2 separate regions of the Homo sapiens genome follow, and region 2 is linked to region 1. Evidence: promoter capture Hi-C in 16 types of primary human blood cells and fetal thymus (Javierre and others, 2016). All regions are on one chromosome and are shown on one strand. Each heading gives the region's core, a stretch centred on a gene start or on the middle of the fragment in contact. The rest is flanking DNA. Distances are from core to core; before and after follow the strand shown. Region 1 holds the start of GABARAPL2 (GABA type A receptor associated protein like 2). Region 2 holds the start of AP1G1 (adaptor related protein complex 1 subunit gamma 1).

The links. Contacts are between HindIII fragments. The CHiCAGO score rates a contact against its expected background, and 5 or more counts as called.
Region 2: a contact is called between a fragment that was not itself captured here and the fragment with the promoter of GABARAPL2 in region 1, in 1 of 17 cell types (non-activated CD4 T cells). The highest score is 5.4, in non-activated CD4 T cells.

The regions. Positions count from the first base shown.
Region 1 is chr16:75,564,821-75,568,241 of GRCh38, reverse strand. It overlaps GABARAPL2 (GABA type A receptor associated protein like 2), which reads right to left and starts at 1,863. Exons shown (of 4, transcript NM_007285.7): 1 at 1,722-1,863; 2 at 1,335-1,390; 3 at 33-205. The coding sequence starts at 1,755. RefSeq lists an enhancer at 648-1,401 and a silencer at 1,391-1,800. The HindIII fragment of the contact is 5,212 bases long and covers 458-3,421 here.
Region 2 is chr16:71,806,118-71,809,074 of GRCh38, reverse strand. It overlaps AP1G1 (adaptor related protein complex 1 subunit gamma 1), which reads left to right and starts at 241. Exons shown (of 23, transcript NM_001128.6): 1 at 241-312. It overlaps LOC124903714 (a long non-coding RNA gene), which reads right to left and starts at 117. Exons shown (of 2, transcript XR_007065110.1): 1 at 1-117. RefSeq lists enhancers at 1-519, 463-1,110. The HindIII fragment of the contact is 1,723 bases long and covers 389-2,111 here.

The DNA.
Region 1 (3,421 bases), core at 614-3,113:
ACCAGAGGGCCCATCTAGTAAACACCTCTCACCTGGACTGTGGGACTGTCTTATCCACAAACAGGAAGATCGCCTTTTCAGAAGGAAGCTGGATCCTTTTCCTGATGATCCACATGAACTGAGCCACAGTGATATCAGATGGAACCAAGTACTTCCGTTTGTCAATGTCAACAATCTGAGAGCCTGAGACCTTTTCCACAATCACCTGGGAAAGTAAAGAGAGGTCAGGACTGTGTTTCCTAAAGCGAGGCTCTGGCCTCACATGGCTGAGGAGCTGATGAACAGAGTGTGGGCAAGGAGGTGGGTGGGGAACTGCATAGCAGGAGAAAATATGTCTTTGGCTTAATAAACCACACGCTCTGGAGGTTAAGAATTGATATAAATGTGTTACAGGGAAACAGTAAGTGCTTTTCTGTGGTCAATTATGTAAGAGAAATGCAGCCCTTACCACTAAGCTTTTCCACATTTTATCTGGGCAGACCTAAGAATATCTGGGGAGGGTTTCATCCATGGCCCGTTACTCCAGGACCCCAGAATGGATCCACCTTCACACTACAGGAAACACTACTGTGTTCCCAAGGAACACAGGAGACAAGAATGGATGGACTAATTGGAATGCCTGGAATTTTAGCCAGCCAAGAACCAAGTTCTTCATTTGGCCTGTTGCTCCTCTCTGAACAAGTTTCAAATCCGTCCCTCCTACTCCTTTCCCCAGACAAATTATTCACAAGCAAAGAGCTACAATAACAGGCCTTAATGTCCATTAAAAATTAATAACGATTACAAAACTATCTCCCCAACCATGGAAGAAATATAACATTATATTTATTATTGACTAAGAAGAAAATATGGCAGAAGGGGTTTTCAGCGGCTTTTCACATTATTTTGGTCAGGCAAGGATGACAGGGTCAAGGTGAGATAACGGAGCTAGAAGTTAGGTAAAGATGGAGACAAAGTAAAAGATGAACGTCCTGAGACTCAAGTACCACTTCCAAGACCAAAATGACAGTCTCCCTCCACCACCATTCCCAAAAGTGGCAGTGACCTGTTGCCCTGTCCTAGAACATCGTTCCTTACATAATTGGCCAGGGAGCCCCGAGGCTGCAGACGGCTCGCTGGCCTAGATCGGGAGATTCAGCACTGAGGCACCCTGAACAGCACCAGCCCGAGCCCCTCACGCCCCGGCCCTGGGCGGCCTCATCCCGGTCTGGCCCGTCAGCTACTGTAACTGGGACTGGAACCTCAACTTGTCAACTGTTGAATGGCCTGGGGCCTATCACGGGTCCCAGACGACAGAGGTGACAGCGAGGTGAGGGGGCGGAGAGTCCACTCACCGGAACCCTGTCGGGATATTTCGCTCGAATCTTCGCGGACTCCACGCATCTGTGTTCTGTGGGAGAAACAAACGGGGCTGACGGCCGCGCCTGCCCACCGGTCGGTTCCCGGCCCCCGGCCCTCCTCCTCCTGCGCCCTGCGTACAACCCAGGCCCTGGTTCCGGCGTCCCCGGGGCCGCGGTCCTGTCCCCTACTAGCTCCCAGCAAGGCCCGCGGAGGGTGACATGGGGTCAGGGGGCCGCTGCCCGAGGCACCAGGGCATGGGCGACTCCAGCCCGCAGCAGGGCATCCGCCCCGCTCCACTCGGCCCAGGGCCGCCCGAGTGGGGGAGGGGGCCCACCCGCCGCCCCAGCCCCCAGCAGCCGGGCCGACGACCAAGTGCTTACCCAGCGAGTGGTCCTCCTTGAACATCCACTTCATGGCGGCGGCGGGAAGGGGACGGAACCGGCTCGCGGAGCCGCGGAGCTCAGCGCACCGAGCACAACAACAACGACGGCGGCAGCGGCAGCGGCAGCGACGGCGGCGACTACACGGCAGGCGGGACTTCCGGCTGTCGGAGCCTAGCAACCGGCCGGGGGCGGGGCTTCCGGCGCCATTTGTCAGGGCGCCACGCCAAGGGGCGGGGCCGCACGTAAAGGGGCGGGGCCGCGGAGGACCCCTTTGGGGGCTCCTGGGCTGCGGTGGCGAAGAAGTTGGTTATGGGGACGTCTGTGAGCAGTATCTGCGACATTGCTCGCAGGAATGTTCGGGGAACTGGTGACAGGAGTGGGGTCTCGGGAGCGTTGGTGGCGGAAAACGTCTGGCTGATAGTGTAGGGCTCTTACTGAGGGCTGTTTGGGGGTGTGGCTGATAGCTGAGGGCTCTTAGAGCGGTTCATAGGGGAAGTCTGGGGAATTGGTGACAAGAACGGTCTTTAGGGGTAAGAATGACATAAGGAGGGCTTTCTAGAGCTTGGCGATAACAAGGGAGCTGTTTAGGGCGTTGACAGTTTGGGGAGTATTGCTCGGAGTGGTGACAGGTTGGGGGCTCATTATGGGAGGGGAGGGTGTTTGAGGACACTGTTGGAAGCGGCACTGAGGACAACCCGGAGGTCCGTATTAGGGACAGCCGTAGTAGGTTGTCTTGGACCTAGAAATTGAATTTAAACAAATCCCGTTTTCTTCCTTTATTCGTGAATAAATATTTGAATAAACATTTACGAAAAGGTATCACAAATGCACATTTGAGGCGGGGTACGGTGGCTCACGCCTGTAATCCCAACACTTTGGGAGGCCGACGCGGGTGGATCACCTGAGGTCAGGAGTTGAAGACCAGCCTGGCCAACATGGTGAAACCCCGTCTCTACTAAAAATACAAAAATTAGCCAGGCATGGTAGTGGGCGCCTGTAGTCCCAGCTCCTCGGGAGGCTGAGGCAGGAGAATCGTTTGAACCAGGGAGGTGGAGGTGGCAGTGAGCCGAGATCACACCACTGCACTCCAGCCTGGGCAACAGAGCAAGACTCCGCCTCAAAAAAAAATGCACATTTGAGGAGTGTAACATCACTGATCACAGACCCCTTAATTTTAACTGGCAGAGGAGTTAGAGGTGACTGTCAGACTCGGAGAATTCCCCTGAGAGCTGGTCATGAGATGGGTTTCCTTATTTGGCTGTGGGAGTGGTTTAGCAATCACAGCCTGAGCTGTGTGTGTGTCACCTGCCCGGACATATGCTTTGAGGTTCTCCAATCAGTGATGTAATGCCTTTTTTCCAAGCAGACTCATCAAGGCAGTCTGGTCTGGGTCACCATCTGTTTATAAGCTGCTGAACATGTAGCAGGAATATTCACTTAATTGGGCACATGAACCCTGCCACGTGCTTGTGATTCTGATGCACCTGTAAAGCCTGTATGTTTGAATGTGGTAGTTCATCATTTCCTACACTGGAAATTCCTGATCGATGCTGTGGAATCTAGCTTCATTCTATAAGTATTTTTGTTATTTTAAGACTGTGTGTCTGAGTAACTAGAATAGGTTTTTTTGTTTCTTTGTTTTTGTTTTTGTTTTTTGGAGACAGGGTCTTTCTCTGTCACCCAGGCTGGAGTTCAGT
Region 2 (2,957 bases), core at 1-2,500, 3.8 Mb after region 1:
CGCTCTGCCAGGAGCAGTCGCCTCCTCCTTGGCAAATAGTCCTCGGCAGGGTCCGAGTTCTTGGATAATTCGAGAGAAAAGGCACGATAAGTTGCAGTACGAGGACACGGAAACGACCAGGAGAGGAGGACAGGGAGCGAAGTTTCCTCAATAGTGTGTGAAGTTAGTTAAAAACTCCCTCCTTCCTCAGGATCCCTCCGCCTGCGGTAGCGGTGGTGAGGCCGAGGGAGCCGCCATTTTGGATGTTCGGTTCCTGCTGCCACTGCTGCCGCCGCCCCCGGAGCTGCTGGTTTCATTCGAGGTTTCGGGCCGGTGAGTGTCACTCCCGGCGCTGAGAGCATATTGCTGCTTTTGCCCCGCCGCTGCCGCGGGCGCTCGACCGGAAGCTTCCTTTCAGTTTCAGGGGTCCAGTCCCAGGCTGTGGGTGTTGAGAAGAGAAGACAGAGAAGCTGGGCCAGGAGAGGCCGGGAGCCCCAGGGGCTGCTCCGACTTCTGGAGGGCCGACCCCGAGGCCTCGGACCGGGAGGTTCCGCGCGCCGCGGCGTTCCGTGTTGTGGCGTTGCCCCGCCGGTACGGGCCTCCTTGAACCCTTGACTTTCTCAGGCTGCGATCTTTGAGGGCTCATTCAGGGAGCCTGGGGTTTAGCGGGGCGGGCCCCACCCCCGCGTGTCTTCTCTGAGCCACGTATCAGCGTTCTTGTGTCTTGTACCCGTGTCAGGTCTGTCAGATAACTCCCAGCATATCCAAATGCCCAGTTAATCGCTGCCTGCCCCTGCAGTGCCGTCCTCTCGGAACCGGACATCGGCCTCGCCTCTCTCTAACCTTCCGACCAACTTCTTTCCCAATTTTTCGTGTGTGTGTGTATATGTTGTTGTTTTGTTTTTTTCAACCTACCTGCGAGTATACTGTTTACCCTTTTCTCAGCTCCTGGCCCTGCGGACGTCAGCGTCTAATAATTCTCCCGGTCTTCCTGATTGCCTGAAAGAGTCGGGACGGTTCGGTTGATTGTGTTTCCCGGTTAGGACTCGGTGTAGGAGATCCATCGAACCACTCGCTCAGGGTAATGTTTATGAAGCAGATTATGTTTATGAAGCAGATTAAATGGCTTTTGGGAGGCAAGAGCTGTCAAATGTTTTCTCATATGTGGATTCCCTCCCTGTGCTGAATACTTAGCTTTTTGGTGCTTACTGACACTTGTGTGGTATTTTTTTTTCTCCCCTATTATATATCCCTGAGCACGGAAATCTGTCCATGGAGAAAAATATTAATCTGAGGTAGGTAGAAAGGAGAGTTGGGCTGCTTTACAGTGATTAGTTAACAGAAGGGAGGAGTTAGTGCTTTCTTAGTGACCTTAACTTTGAAGTGTTTGTACAGTAATGATCTTTGCTGACTGATTCTAAAAAATACTTGTAATGATTTCATGTATTGGGTTTTTCTGGGGATAGCTGAATTTTAAATATTCACTTCCACCGTTCCCTAGAATACTTGTCAAATACCTAACTTGTCACACACCCTAACTTTCACGTTTGAAAAATATGAACCCTCTAAGTACTCGTAATCTCGTCACTTTTATTCTAAAGGCATGTTTGCAGTCTAGCATGCTTGAATAAAAAGTATGTCTTTATTTTTATTTATTTATTTTTTGAGACGAAGTCTCCCTCTGTCTCCAGGCTGGAGTGCAGTGGCACGGTCTCGGCTCACTGCAACCTACGCCTCCCGGGTTCAAGCAGTTCTCCTGCCTCAGCCTCCCAAGTAGCTGGGACTACAGGCACACGCCGCCACGCCCGGCTAATTTTTTGTTGTTGTATTTTAGTAGAGATGGGGTTTCATCATGTTGCCCAGGCAGATCTCGAACTCCTGAGCTCAGGTAATCCGCCCGCCTCGGCCTCCCAAAGTGCTAGGATTACAGGCGTGAGCCACCGTGCCTGGCAAAAAGTATTTCACAGTTATTCACTGATACATTTCCTACGTTTCAAGTTAGGCGAGTGTGATTGAATCACCCTTATTTCATCTCAGCCTGGGTTTTCACATCTGCAAAAGAGAAATTAACTTATTTGAGATCACAGTCTAGTGGTTGAAGTTTAAATTTATAACTTGAATTGAGTCAAGCTTTTTAATATTGCTAAGCCACTTATAGATGCATTATTATTATCAGGTTATTGAAATGAGATTGTAGATAAATTCCTCTATAGGTCATATGATGTCTCAGAAGAAAACAATATTTTCAGTTTAAATACTCAGTGATCTTGTTATTTAAGCAGATTTTTCAAAAATATATTAGTTACTATTAGATACGTGAGTTCTGTATTACCCTGAAGCAATGGAATTTTCTCTTTTGGTTTAAAGGAACTGTCAAACACTGAACACCTATGTAATGCTCACTCATTTAGTAAGTATGCCCTCGCAGTTACTACTGAAATGTTCCATTTCTGACTTAGACTTTTCAAGTAAGGTGTTAGAAGAGCTATCACATAGATGTTAGTTAACTCAGTGTTTTTCATGCTTTAATATATTGGTATTTAAATGTCATTCAGGCGGGCGCTCAGTGGCTCATGCTTGTAATCCCAACACTTTGGGAGGTGGAAGGTGGATCCCTTGAGCCCAGGAGTTGGAGGCCAGCCTGGGCAACCTAATGAGACTCCGTCTCTACCAAAATATTTAAAAATATTAAACTTTTAAAAATTCATTCTTAGATAGTTTGCATTCACTGTAGAAAGGGTCCTTTTGCCTTAACAAATTCCTAGCAAAGTGTTGTTTAGTGCACCATTGATCAGTGCATATTTGAATGTCTGCTTTGCGTTTAGGAAACCTCCGTTTTCTTTTGGGGGCAGTTGCTTGTTCTTTGGTCTGACCTCTGTCATTGATAGCAGTTCTAGATTTGAGGGCAGATTTTAGAGTGAAACTTTAAAGTACAGAATTTGCCAGGAATGCCTTGGTGATATTTCACCCCAGTGTTT